Linked DNA regions of Homo sapiens: all the other regions are linked to region 4. The links are contacts of gene promoters, found by promoter capture Hi-C in human tissues and cell types (Jung and others, 2019). All regions are on one chromosome and are shown on one strand. Each heading gives the region's core, a stretch centred on a gene start or on the middle of the fragment in contact. The rest is flanking DNA. Distances are from core to core; before and after follow the strand shown.

Region 1 (2,948 bases), core at 9-2,508, 1.5 Mb before region 4:
TTAGCCCCTCAAGCTGGGCCCAGGTCAACCCTAATTGTAAGGGTCAGGAAACTGAAGTTAAGGTGGCACTATTCCCCACCACTAGTGGTCACCTGGAAACTCCACACACGGAAGCCAGCATGACATTGTGAAACAGGTCCAACCATGACACTCTCCAGCTTAGAACCTGCTGGATTTTCCCGCAGCCCACCAGGCCCTGGAGGCCCAGCCCCACAGGAAGCCACCCTCTATAAACACTGCCGGTTTCTGGAACTCTGAGTCTCCTGTCATGCACTTTCCTCCCCCAGCCCCCGCGCCCTCACTGCTTCTTTCTTGGTCAGCCTCCCGGGGACTCAGCTCCTCTTGGATAGGAGCTCTGGCTGTCGGTCACCACTGTGGCCGCAGGGCCTGGTGCAGACGGGATAAACGATGAAGAATGCCACCTGCGCGTCTGGACAGCGTAGAACCGCAATCAGCTTGCTTCAAAATCAGATGCTACAGCCTGGCTTTGGGGACGCCTTCCTTTCTAAGGCATAAGTGCGAGCGTTCGCTGCTGTGCGTGGAACTGCGGCCGGGAGGGAGTGGCGGCGTGAACGCCGGCGGCTGTAGAGACACACCGGCCGCGGCCCCATCACCCTGCAGGGGCCTGCGGCCGCCATCCCGGCCTGCCCCCGACCAGCTGTGCGACCTCGAACACGTCGTGAGCCGGCTTCCCGGCTCGGGATCGAACCCGAGGAGTGCTGTTTGGGGTCGCAGTGAGGCTAAGGGAGGCCGCAGGTGCCAAGCGTCCCGCCTGCCGGGCGAGGGCCAACCCGAGGCCACGCGCGAGGAGCGGCCGCAGCGACTGGACAAAACAAAGACAAAGACAAAGACGGCTCTTCCCCTGCCCGCGCCCCAGCCGCGACGGCAGCTCCCGCGGCCGCCAAACGGGCGTGACCCTCGAGGAGCCTCCGTCGGGGCGCTGCCTGCGACCGTGGGCCCAGGCCGCCCGCCGAGCCCAGCGCCCTGGCCGAAACCCCGACCCCGACCCCGACCTGGACCCACCAGCCGCCCCGCCCCCTTCGCGGCCCCGCCCGCCCCGGCGCCCTCACCAGCTCCGGGAGGCTCCTGCGCGGCGGCCACCGGGATGAGCAGCAGGAGCAGCGCGGCGCCACCGAGGCGCAACCTCCAGTACGGCGTCGGCCCGCGGGCCACTCCGGGCGCCATGGTCGGCCGGTCGCTCTATCAGTCAGTGGAGCGTTACAACTCCGACTCCAGCACAAGCGGTCTCCGCCCGGAACAGCCGCGGCGCCGGAAGTGGACCTGCGAGGTGGGGCCATGCGAGTGCGCAGCCTCAAAAAGCAGCTCGCCCCGCTCCCTCGCCATCTGCCCCGCCCCTCGCCAACGGGCTCGCCTCCCGGCGCGGCTGAGGTTCAGTGCGCCTGCGCGATAGAGGAAAGGAGCCTGGTAGCGAGGAGAGCGGCTGAGGCTCAGTGCGCCTGCGCGGCGCGGATGGGCGAGGCGTGACCGAGGGGCGAGGCGTGACCGAGGGGCGAGGCGTGACCGAGGGGCGAGGCGTGACCGAGGGGCGAGGCGTGACCGAGGGGCGAGGCGTGACCGAGGGGCTCGCCGCGGCTCCTGCGCCTGCGCGGCGGGGAACGGCGACCGGCTGAGGGGACTAGGGGAGCGCGGTGCTTCGGTGGCGGAGGTCACGGTGGCCTCCATCCTAAAGGGCTGCGGGCGTCCCGGACGGCGGTCCCAAGCGCTGCTCACGCTGCTCTTAAGTGAGCCCTGGACGAGGCGCGGTGGGCCCTCATAGTCCGCGCCGGCGCCCTCGCTCCACACCGCGGCGTCCGGCCCTGGGCTCCCGCCGATGTCCGCGTGGGACTTTTAGGGGATTTGTTTATTTTTGTACGTTAACCACACTAGAAACGGCCCCAGAATGGGCTGAAACGTGTGCTGCTGAAGCTGCCACCTAAACTCCCGAGAGAAGCGCCGTTTCTCCTCCATGGCTTCTCGCCGACGCCCTCGCTGCGGCCTTCCGGGCCCCTCGGTTGATAAAAGGACTAAATAGTGACGGACATTTTTAAGGCTACTTAAGAAATGGCAAAAATACATTTAGAGGTGTGAACCCGAACACACTGCGCGCTTTAAGCCCCGCGAGAGCCGGGGCCGCCCGCTTCTGTGCGCCCGTAGCTCCTTTCTCGGGTCCGGGATTCGCCGGTGCCGGGGACAGAAACCTCCTGCCTTCTTAGTTCATGACCCTTGTAGATGAACTTCCCTGTTTTCTGCACTGCTTAGACCAGAAGACGGGAAACCGTGACTGCCGCACCCTTCCCTGAAGCAGGCACTGCCCGTCGTCCATCAAACGCGAGGACTGCGCCCACCTCGTAGGAAGGACGCCGCGGTCCTGCTAAAAGCCTCCGCCTCTGCCTGCCCGAGGGCACCCTTCCCCTCCCCGCTTCCGAGGGCGGACTCCATTCCTCTGGAGCCGGTGTTTCCGGGTGGGCCAGCCTCCAACTGCCTTTGAATAACCCCCCCTTACATTAGATTCTGACCCTGTGGTGATTTTAGGTTGGGATTTGGGCGCCTGCAGATGGCTCCGAAGCCAGCCTCTTGTGATCCGAGCCACTTCTCTGGCACTCGGAGCGCTGGCACCCGCGGAGCGGCCTTGGTTCACCGGACCGCCTGGGAACCTGGCCGGGGTCTCTGGCAGCCTCCCAGGGCTGAGGTTCAGACTCTGTTCCGCCTACCCAGGTCCACACCTGATAGGGCTGGAGTTGAGGCTTGGTTTTAAGGCAAGAGTTTCGTTTGTTATTTCTCCAAAGAGTCAGCTGTTTGCAGGTGTGTGGTTAACACTATCCTTCGAGGTTAAGGTTTTGTTCGTCTTGCTAAAGTTTGCAACCTTTTTTGTCCTTCAGATTTGGAGAAGGGGAAAGCAGTTTCTCTTTGAAAAGAAGCAGCGAATCGTGGCTTAAGCAAAATTTGTA
Region 2 (3,135 bases), core at 341-2,840, 1.2 Mb before region 4:
ACACAATACTGGGTTACCCTGGGACCATGTGCAGTGAGCCCGGGCTTCTGGAGTCAGACACAGTACCTGGTTACCCTGGGATCATGTGCAGTGAGCCTGGGCTGCCGGATGCCGCTGGTGGGCCCTCTGCCAGCTGCTGCATCCCCAAGCCCTCTCTTGTGTCATTGTTTTCCCTTTTCAGGAATAGTTTCCACTAGGGACCTGCTCCCTCAAATTTCTATCATTTGAGGTGAGGTTTCGTGTTGGTTCATCTGACTGGCCGAGTGCACCCTGGCTGTGAGAACAGGAAATAGAATTCTGGCTTTTGTCTTAGGGATATCCCCAGGTAGAGAGAGGAGATTCAAAAGATGCTGGGGAGCTACAGACGTGACCTCTGACCTCTACATGAAGAATGGTGGAAAACACTTACTACTTAGTGTTAATCTACACATTTCACTTGGTTTAGACCTAAGCATAAATAGTGTGAAGTCGATTTAAACAGAGGTTACAGTTTCCAGAAACTTCAGCGCCGTGGCTGCAGTTAAACAGCAATGATTGGACTCTTTACGTCTACTCCATTCTCGATATGAATGAAAGTAGTCACATCAAATGCATATTTATTAGTCTTGGTCATTTTGAATTTGAGTCCTTTACATACTATGTATGTATGTACCCAGGAGCAGAGCAGGGTTAAAAGTGACATCTTCTAACTTCTACTCTGGAATTTTTTCCCTCTGCACTTTTTGTTGTCACGTAGTAGATGTTTTCACCCACATGCAGGTGAATGAGTGACATATTTATCTTGTTACATAGTGAAGCTTTCAATTCTTTAATTTTATCCCTCTAATGAAACTGTGAGGAATTGATTCTGTTGACACAGAAAAGGCTGGTGTCACATGAACCTAAAGGACGTCATTGAGCATGTGCCTCTCACGCAGAACTGACATAGAGCCTCCCGTGCAGCTCACCTTGAATTCTCCATGCACGAATCAGCCATAGGCACGTGTTATGTGTGGCACAGGCAAGAAGTGCCTGATAGATTTTAGTTCTGTTTATTGCTGGAAGCCCTTGCTGTAGGAAAAGGAAGGTTTTTTCCTTTCCTGGACAATGATTTTGAGCTACGGTGTAGAATGGAAAAGGCAGGCTTTGATTTGCCAGACACTGCTTGCTATGTGTGAAGCCGGGATAGGGCGGTGCTGTTGGACAGAAGACCTGCCCTGTGTGCCTTTTCACACTGCATTGAGAATTTGTCTAGATGATTTCCTGGGCTTATTGATTGTTGAAGGAAACAATGCAAATTGCAAGTTATGATCAAATAATGCTTTGAGTCTTCACCTTTTTAGAATGCTCTGGGAAAATACGGGGAGAAAATAAACCATAGGAAAGGCATTTTGAGGCGGTTTTGTTTTGTTTTAAACAGCTGCCATGAAATGCACCCTCTCTAAGAGGACAATTCAGTGATTTTCTGAATGTCTGAGTTGTGCAGACATCACCACTGTCTAGTTCTTGAACACTCCTGTCACCTCAAATGTTCCCTGTGCTTGTCTGCAGTTGATTCGCGCACCCAGCCCAGCCTCAGGCAACCGCTCAGGCAGCCTGCCTGCTGTTTCCACATGTGCCTTGCAGATATTTCATGGGAAGCAGCTCATGTCCTGTGTCATCGTTTGCATCAGGCTTTCACTTAACATGTTTTTCGGGTTCATCCGTGTGTTGTAGAACATATCAGTAATTTGTTCCTTTTAGTCGTATTGGCGTAGCGTGTTCGTTTATTCCACTCCAGCGATGGACTTTGGGTTGTTTCTGCATTCTGGCTATTATGAATCACGTGACTTTGAACATTAGCAAGCATGTCTGCGTGTGGATGTGTATTTTCATTTGTCATAGGTAGATTCCTAGGAGTTCGTAGGAGCTTCGAAATGGAGTTTAAGACAGAAGCCTTTGTTTGATACTGATAATGCTAGCAAGGGCCATTTATTTGGCTTGCTCTTGAAGTCTGTCTCTGTGATGTGCATTGTGCTTCTTGAATTGTATGAGCCTACTATAGGATGAAATATGGTTATAATGTCGAGCAGAAGCTATTAGCATTTCTTAAGCTGACCACCTGTGTTGTGCACACTATTAGGTCCTCAGCAGATGAGTTCTTACCGGGTGTTTGATGTTTTCCCCCCACTTATCAGAAGAGGAAGTCGGTGAAGTACGGTTGGGCATATTAAAACCACATTCAGCCTACAACACCACAGAAACACTTACCCTTTGACCCAGCAATTCTGCTTCTAGGAATCCTTCCAGAAGATAGACCTCCAACAATGTGAAAATACATTCGGAATAACCTAAATATCCATATGCAGGAGAGGGTTGAGTAAACTCTAGTACAGCCACACAACCACATCCACTGTTGAGGATGACCTCTGTGAATTGGTTTGAGGTGGTTTCCAGGGCACGTGGATGTGAATGAGGCAAGTACCAAAGAACATCTAAATGCTGCCCTTGATGTGAGAAGAAGGGGATGCAGGAAGACACACGCTCCCTGCACACTTGTGCAGAGGAGATACAGGAGGGCAGAGCCAGAAACAAAAGAGATGGTGACTGCAGAGGGCCAGGGGACGGAGGAGGAGTGGGTGCCAGGTCATAGGTGGGGTGCAGAGGGCGAGGGGGCAGGGAAGTGGAGTGGGTGCCAGGTCATAGGTGGGGTGCAGTGCTGCTCTCAGTACACCTTTTAGTGTGGCCCAGCTCTTGAAACCACAGCAATACTTCATATACTCCAAAGTAAAATAGATGGTTAATATCAGCCAGGATGTGGGGGACCCAAAATGAAATATAAGCGGAAAACACACATCTCACTGTAGTACAAAGCGGCAGGGCCACAGCAAAGGGGGTGGAAAGGAAAGTGTTAACCTTATTTGGGAAAATGATAATGTTGACTGGATTCTGTGAGGCTGAAGAGAACTGTACAAAATAGTAGTAAATTTTTTTCTCAGTGTTAATGGTGAGCAATGTGAAACGACTTTATGTGTATGTGGGGATTGAACAAATAAGCAGAATCGTAGTGGATAATGAGAGCCAGGTTTCTCACTGTCCCAGGAAGAAGTTACAAATAGCAAAAGGAAGATGGCAGAGGGAGGCCGTGCTGTTGGATTGGGATAGGTGTCAGTGTGA
Region 3 (2,861 bases), core at 348-2,847, 2.0 Mb before region 4:
GGGTGGACCGCCTGCCTGGGGAGCCACCTGCAGTCTGGGTCCCCTTGCGGTGCCACTGCGATCTCTCTAGAGCCTCCTCTTCCTCCTGCCACTGGGGACATCTCTGCCCCTCTGCTTCCCTCGGAAGCTGGTTGTGAAGCCGGGCCAGTGGCTGCGGGGACAGCTCATGGCCCTGGAAAGACCCCACTGGCATGCGGCACAACATCTGCTCTGAGAACTGCAGGAAAAGGCCGGGCAGGGCACCCCTGCCATCCTGCCAGTGAAGTTTACGGGTCTCGGAATGAGTGTGGCCAAGGGGCAAAGGGGAGGAGGGAGAGGGGGAGGTGGGGTTGCCTGAGAGTGCCCGCCCCAGGACAGCAGCCCGTAGCTCAGCCCCAAGAGCCCGGCACCGAGCTTCGAGCTGCGTGGCCCCGAAGAGGGGCTCAGTCACCTAATGTGATGAGGGGACGGCAGAGCAAAGGCTTGTCTGACAGTGACCGTCGTGTGTAGTGGAGAGGACGTGGCCAGAGATCTGGTTTCAGGGCAGGGATGAGGGGGGATTCCAGTCAGATCTTTTGCATCCCAGCAACCCTCCCCTTGACACCTTTGGGGCAGTGGCAGGGGATGACCATGGATGACCTCATGAGAACACTGTGGGTGTCAGGGACTCAGGGAGGCCCCGCAGGGCTTGAACATGCTTATGTTTCTCATTTGTAAAGGGAGGGCAGTCATCCGGTGGCTTCTTGTGGCCTCGGTGATGAAGGCCACATCAGAGCCAGGGGGAAAGGATATGAGAGAAAAAGATTCATTTGAATTATTGTCTTTTTCCTGGAGTGGAGAGATGTGGTACTCCCCAAAACTTCCTTTCTAGGCTGGGCACAGTGGCTCACGCCTGTAAAACCAGCACTTTGGGAAGCGGAGGCTGGTGGATCGCCTGAGGTCAGGAGTTTGAGACCAACCTGACCAACATGGTGAAACCCTGTTGCTACTACATACAAAAAAAATTAGCAGGGTGTGGTGATTGGCGCCCATAATCCCAGCTACTGGGGAGGCTAAGGCAGGAGAATCACTTGAACCAGGGAGACCGAGGTTGCAGTGAGCCGAGACTGCGTCACTGAACTCCAGCCTGAGCGACAAAGTGGGACTCCGTCTCAAAAAACAAGAAGAAAAAGAAACTTCCTTTGTGGACAGTGAGGGCTATTTAAAAAAATTTTGGAATATGAAAGTAGTCACTGGTGTCTGGAAGCAGGAGCTGTGCAGAATTGTACAGTTGCGAAACCATGTCGCTGGCAGCTGGTGCTGGCGGTGGAGACTTCCCTGTGCGGTGCTCAGTGCAGCTGCACCCGTGGGGGAGGGAGCTCTTTCTCTGGCCCTGCAGTCACCTGAGGTTGTTACCATTATGAACGGCCGCTGGGACCCCCGCATGTGCATGTACTCCCCCAGAGTGTCCGGGGGCCCCAGCCAAGGGACACAGCTCAGGCAGCTGGGAACATGTGCAGGCTGATGAAGAGAACCGGATGAGGGCTTCACATGAGGAAGCATGTGGCCAGGTCCTCTCAGAACATCAGCCTCATCTTCCTGTCTCTGATCTATTTCAGCAACCACCCCATGTGTCTCTAGAACCCCAGTGTAGCGAGCTGGAGAGAGGACTGTCCTGAGGGCAGCAGGCCTGGTTGCAGCTGGCGTGGGGGTCTCAGAATGGAGCCCTCAGCCCTGAGGAAAGCTGGCTCGGAGCAGGAGGAGGGCTTTGAGGGGCTGCCCAGAAGGGTCACTGACCTGGGGATGGTCTCCAATCTCCGGCGCAGCAACAGCAGCCTCTTCAAGAGCTGGAGGCTACAGTGCCCCTTCGGCAACAATGACAAGGTAGGCTTTCTGCTGGTCAGCCTGCAGTTGGCACGTGGCCACGGAGGTCACCGTTGGGCAGGTCATAGCTTGAGGCTGTGACGACGGGGGTGGGAAAGGGTCTGCTGACCTTGGGGGCTCCTGCCCAACCATACCTTTGGGAGAACAGAACTGGGGAGGGTGATGCGTGTCTCGTCTTCTGTGGGTTGCATGACCATTTCCCATGGTTGGTCTGATTGGGAAATCACCGGGTTAACTCAAAAATGTTGCGCTAGAGTCCTGGAAATCTGTTACCCGTGCTTACCTTGTTGCATAATGATTTCACATCCTTTATCCGATTGGGAGGGCCTGGGCCTGGGCTAGCTTTCCCCAAAGCCCTGGATACAAAGACACAAGTATGTTGAAAGCACATGGCATCTTGCAGTCCCCTTGCCAGGCAGGCAGGAGGGTGGCTGCCCTTTTTCCGATGGTGCAAGATCCAGGTCCCCAGATCCCCAGCCTCCACGTTTTCCACCACACCATGTTGTTCCCAAGGAAGGTGGTGGTGCTGTAGAAACTGTAAAGTGCGCGCACATTCAAAATGGTCCCAAGAGGAAATGATTTCTTAGATTCATTCCTCCCTCCTGAATCCCCACCGGAGAGTCTTGGCAAGGTGCTTCTAATCTTTGGCTCAGGGTCGCGCAGGCTTCCTTCCTTCAAGCAAATAGTGTGAAAGCTCCTCAAGGAGCTCAGATGTGTCTCCAGGGGGCTGGGTGTGCTCTTTCGAATGTTGGAAGATCTCAGTGTGCTGTCTTTACCTTCAGCAAGAAAGCCTCAGTTCGTGGATTCCTGAAAACATCAAGAAGAAAGAATGCGTGTATTTTGTGGAAAGTTCCAAACTGTCTGATGCTGGGTAAGTGACGTGATTTGTGTGTAAGACCTCTGACTTCTTCCTTCCGATCCCACATGGAGTAGCTGATCAGGCCAAGACCCCTCAGGGCCTCAGTGAAGGGTCACTGGAGATACCTCTGTCTCCATACGAGGCTTAGAGTCCACAGAGC
Region 4 (2,967 bases), core at 20-2,519:
AGTCTGGGAACCAGGAGACCGCTGGACACCCCGCTCACCACACAGAAGACTGTGGCCTGAGTCAGGAGAAGGAAGTTTCTGGCGGTCGAGCTTCCACGGCTTCCTGAGGGAGGTTGCAGGGAGCCGAGATCGCGCCATTGCGCTATAGCCTGGGCGTCGCAGCGAGACTGTCTCAAAAAAAGAAAAAAAATTCTGAGCGAGATTCCAGGGCTTCCTGAGGGCGCGTTTAAGTTGCAGTTGCTGAGGAGGCTGCAAGGTGAGCTTGCGTCAGCGAGGAGCCACTCCAGCACGCTCGGGAAGGGCATCGTTACTGCTGCAAACAAGCACACGGCCCTCCACGACGAACCTTTTGCAAGTGAAGGCGCACGAACAGGCCCGGAGGACTACAAAGAAACCCAGAAACCAGACTTGGACACATGAAATAAAGGGGTTAGCTGAAGGAATACTCCACAGTTAAGGACGGCCTGCGCGAGGTCACCGGCCCTGTCTTGGTTTTTTGCCACTTCGCTCCAGTTAGTTTCCCAAGTTCCACCTACGCGCGCGCCAGCTGAGAAAACGCCCACCCCGGCGGTCCCGCCACAGGTCACAGGCGGTGCGGACCCCGGGACTGTGTCCGGGCTTCGGTGTCCAGAGAGCTCCAAGACACCCAAACCTTCCGTGGTTTCCACCTCTGCAAGCTTATGTTCCGCTGAGCTCAAGCTGAGGGACGACGACCTCATGCGACGTCAGTTTCCCCCTGGGACCACGAACCCACGGCCCCATTTCTCTTCTGTCTACTAAAAACCTTTTCTTTTCTTTTTTTTTTGAGACCTAAGACATCAGTGAGACACACGAGCAGACACGGGCTCGGTCGGGAAAGGCGGGAGCTCCAAGCGGCGGGGCCTGCAGGTCCAGGCGGTTCGCGGGCTTTCTGACCGCATTCGGCCGAGTTCTTCTCTGAAGACCCAGGACCCCCGGCCGAGGGGGCGCATTCGGCGGGCTGGTGGCGTAGGATTTTGTTTCGGGTTCCCAGGGTCCCGGCAAGGGTGAGGGAGCCCTTGCGGATCCCCTGAGATCCACCTCAGCAGCCTCCTCCGTGGTAGGCCTCAACTTCCCGCGGCGGCCCACAGCCAACGACTAATGCCTGAGCGGGAGAAAACGGCCTGGCCCTGTCCGGGTGGTTGCTGAGCACCGTTCGGCGCCGCCCGCGCCTGCAGGGAGCCCGGCCCGCTGTCCTGGTGGACACAAAGCCCAGGGGCCGCCCGCGCGGGACCAGCAGCGCGAACTTTTTGCCGCTCGGCCAGCCTGGCAGGGGATTTTAAAATCGGCCAATCACAGCGGGCGCCAGGCCTCCGCTTTCCGCTTACTGGTCCTGCCGTAGGAGGCGGGTACGTGAGCGCACCAATCTGTGGCCGGCGAGCGTAAAGGGCGGGGCTCCGCCCAGGCTGCACCGCCCAGAGCGCGCGTGCGCGAGACCGGAAACGCAGCCCCCTGATTGGCGGCGCGTGTCGGGGGCGGGGCCGCGGCTGCGTGACAGTTGTCGCGGGGGGAGGGCGAGCCCAAGCGCGGGGGAGGGAGTGTAAATAGAGCGAAGGCTGCTCTGTGTCAGCCCCGTCACCGCCGGGCGGCCCGCGCGGAGTCTGAGGGAGATGGAAGTTGAGCAAGAGCAGCGGCGCAGAAAGGTGGAGGCCGGGAGGACGAAGGTAAACATTAGGGGCTTCTTCTCTAGCTGCTCTGGCGTGAAGTCCTAAGGGCGGCTCCGGTGCCCGCCACCGCCCCCTGCCAGGAGAGGACGCGGTCCGGCGGAAGCCGCCGCGGAGGTCTCGCTTTTTCCCGCCGGCTCCGCTGGAAGCCGCCTCCTGGCCGCCGCCATCTTGAATCCGCCGCTCTCCGCCAGGTCCCGCCCCCGCCGCGGCCACAGCCAATCAGCGGCCGGGACGCGCGGCGCCTCTCGGGCGGGCCGGGGCGGGGCTGCGCCTGCGTCGGGGGGGGTGGGGCGCGGGCTGGGCGCGGTGCACGCCGGGGCGGGGTGTGGCTGCAGGGCGGGGCTACAGGGGCGTGGCGTGGCTGCACGGAGGGGGTGGGGCGCGGCAGGCGCTGGACCCCAGGCTGGATCTTCCAGTGGCTCCCGCGTCCTCCGGGACCGGGTGGCCTGGGGCGGGCGGCCGGTATTCGGGTGGCTGCTTGGTCTAGGGCCAGTTTCCTGCGCGGCCGGGGCCGGGGGCGTGGCGCGGGTGGCCTGCAGCGCCTCCCCAGGGTGCGCCTTCGCCTCGTCCGTCGGAGATGCTTTCCCCGCGCGTTTCTCGCGGCGTTGCAGTCCTTACTGTGTGAAAGGCCCCCGCGGCGCTCCCGGCCGCCGTCTTCTTCCCGCGCCCTTGGGCTCGCGTCCTGCCCGTCCGGGCCTGGCGTACGCTGCCGGGAACCCACGCGGCGCTGGCGCCGGGCGCCTTCAAGGGACGCGCTCCCGTCTTTCTCCCGCCCCGGGTTTCTCCGTGAAAAAGCGCTCGGTTTGATGGCCACTGTCCTAGGTTTCGTGGGAATAAAGCGCGCAGAGCCCATGACTCGGGGGCAGGAGAAAGGGAGTCCCGAAAGCGCGAGGCGGAACCGCGGGAGCAGGCCGGCCTCTGCGAGGTGCGCGCCGCTCCCCCCCAGGATGTTCTGGCTGGGGTGCTGGGGAAGAGCGGGGCTCCCGGGCACGGCGGACAGGGGACGCGGGGCTAGGCCGGGGAAGGGCTGAGGCGGGCAGGAGGGGAAGGGGAGCCCGGAGCCTGCAGGGAGCTGCGAACAGGAGCAGAGCTCCCAGGAGGGTGGAGGGGGGAGGGAGGGACAAGACGCCGCCTGTAGGGCGACGCAGGCCGCAGACCAGGTCTGTGCTATATCCCGACATGGATAGGTGTGGTGGAGGAGGACATGAAAATAAACGACATGAGGTTGACTTTGAAGGAAATATTTCCTTGAGAGACCATTTTCTTGTGTAAATGGCCTTGT

Evidence for each region. The method cuts DNA at HindIII sites, captures the fragments that hold promoters and counts their contacts. A contact is called where the count stands out against the background at its distance.
Region 1: a contact is called between the fragment with the promoter of PTTG1IP here and the fragment with the promoter of C21orf58 in region 4, in 1 of the 25 tissues and cell types used here (lymphoblastoid cells).
Region 2: a contact is called between a fragment that was not itself captured here and the fragment with the promoter of C21orf58 in region 4, in 1 of the 25 tissues and cell types used here (lymphoblastoid cells).
Region 3: the fragment with the promoter of TRPM2 here is called in contact with the fragment with the promoter of C21orf58 in region 4 in 1 of the 25 tissues and cell types used here (dorsolateral prefrontal cortex).

What each region holds. Positions count from the first base shown.
Region 1 is chr21:44,872,432-44,875,379 of GRCh38, forward strand. It overlaps PTTG1IP (PTTG1 interacting protein), which reads right to left and starts at 1,259. Exons shown (of 6, transcript NM_004339.4): 1 at 1,071-1,259. The coding sequence starts at 1,185. RefSeq lists enhancers at 380-880, 881-1,381, 1,539-2,216 and a silencer at 973-1,622. The HindIII fragment of the contact is 14,261 bases long and covers 1-2,948 here.
Region 2 is chr21:45,084,955-45,088,089 of GRCh38, forward strand. The region is part of intron 1 of ADARB1 (adenosine deaminase RNA specific B1); the gene reads left to right. Among named protein-coding and RNA genes, the nearest start is that of ADARB1, 12 kb to the left of the region's middle. The HindIII fragment of the contact is 5,819 bases long and covers 1-3,135 here.
Region 3 is chr21:44,352,024-44,354,884 of GRCh38, forward strand. It overlaps TRPM2 (transient receptor potential cation channel subfamily M member 2), which reads left to right and starts at 1,598. Exons shown (of 32, transcript NM_003307.4): 1 at 1,598-1,842; 2 at 2,625-2,713. The coding sequence starts at 1,678. RefSeq lists enhancers at 1,814-1,863, 2,024-2,073. The HindIII fragment of the contact is 21,861 bases long and covers 1-2,861 here.
Region 4 is chr21:46,322,601-46,325,567 of GRCh38, forward strand. C21orf58 (chromosome 21 open reading frame 58) reads right to left here and starts at 1,270. Exons shown (of 8, transcript NM_058180.5): 1 at 39-1,270. The coding sequence starts at 138. It overlaps PCNT (pericentrin), which reads left to right and starts at 1,556. Exons shown (of 47, transcript NM_006031.6): 1 at 1,556-1,682. The coding sequence starts at 1,629. RefSeq lists an enhancer at 799-938 and silencers at 1,289-1,618, 1,889-2,348. The HindIII fragment of the contact is 24,092 bases long and covers 1-2,967 here.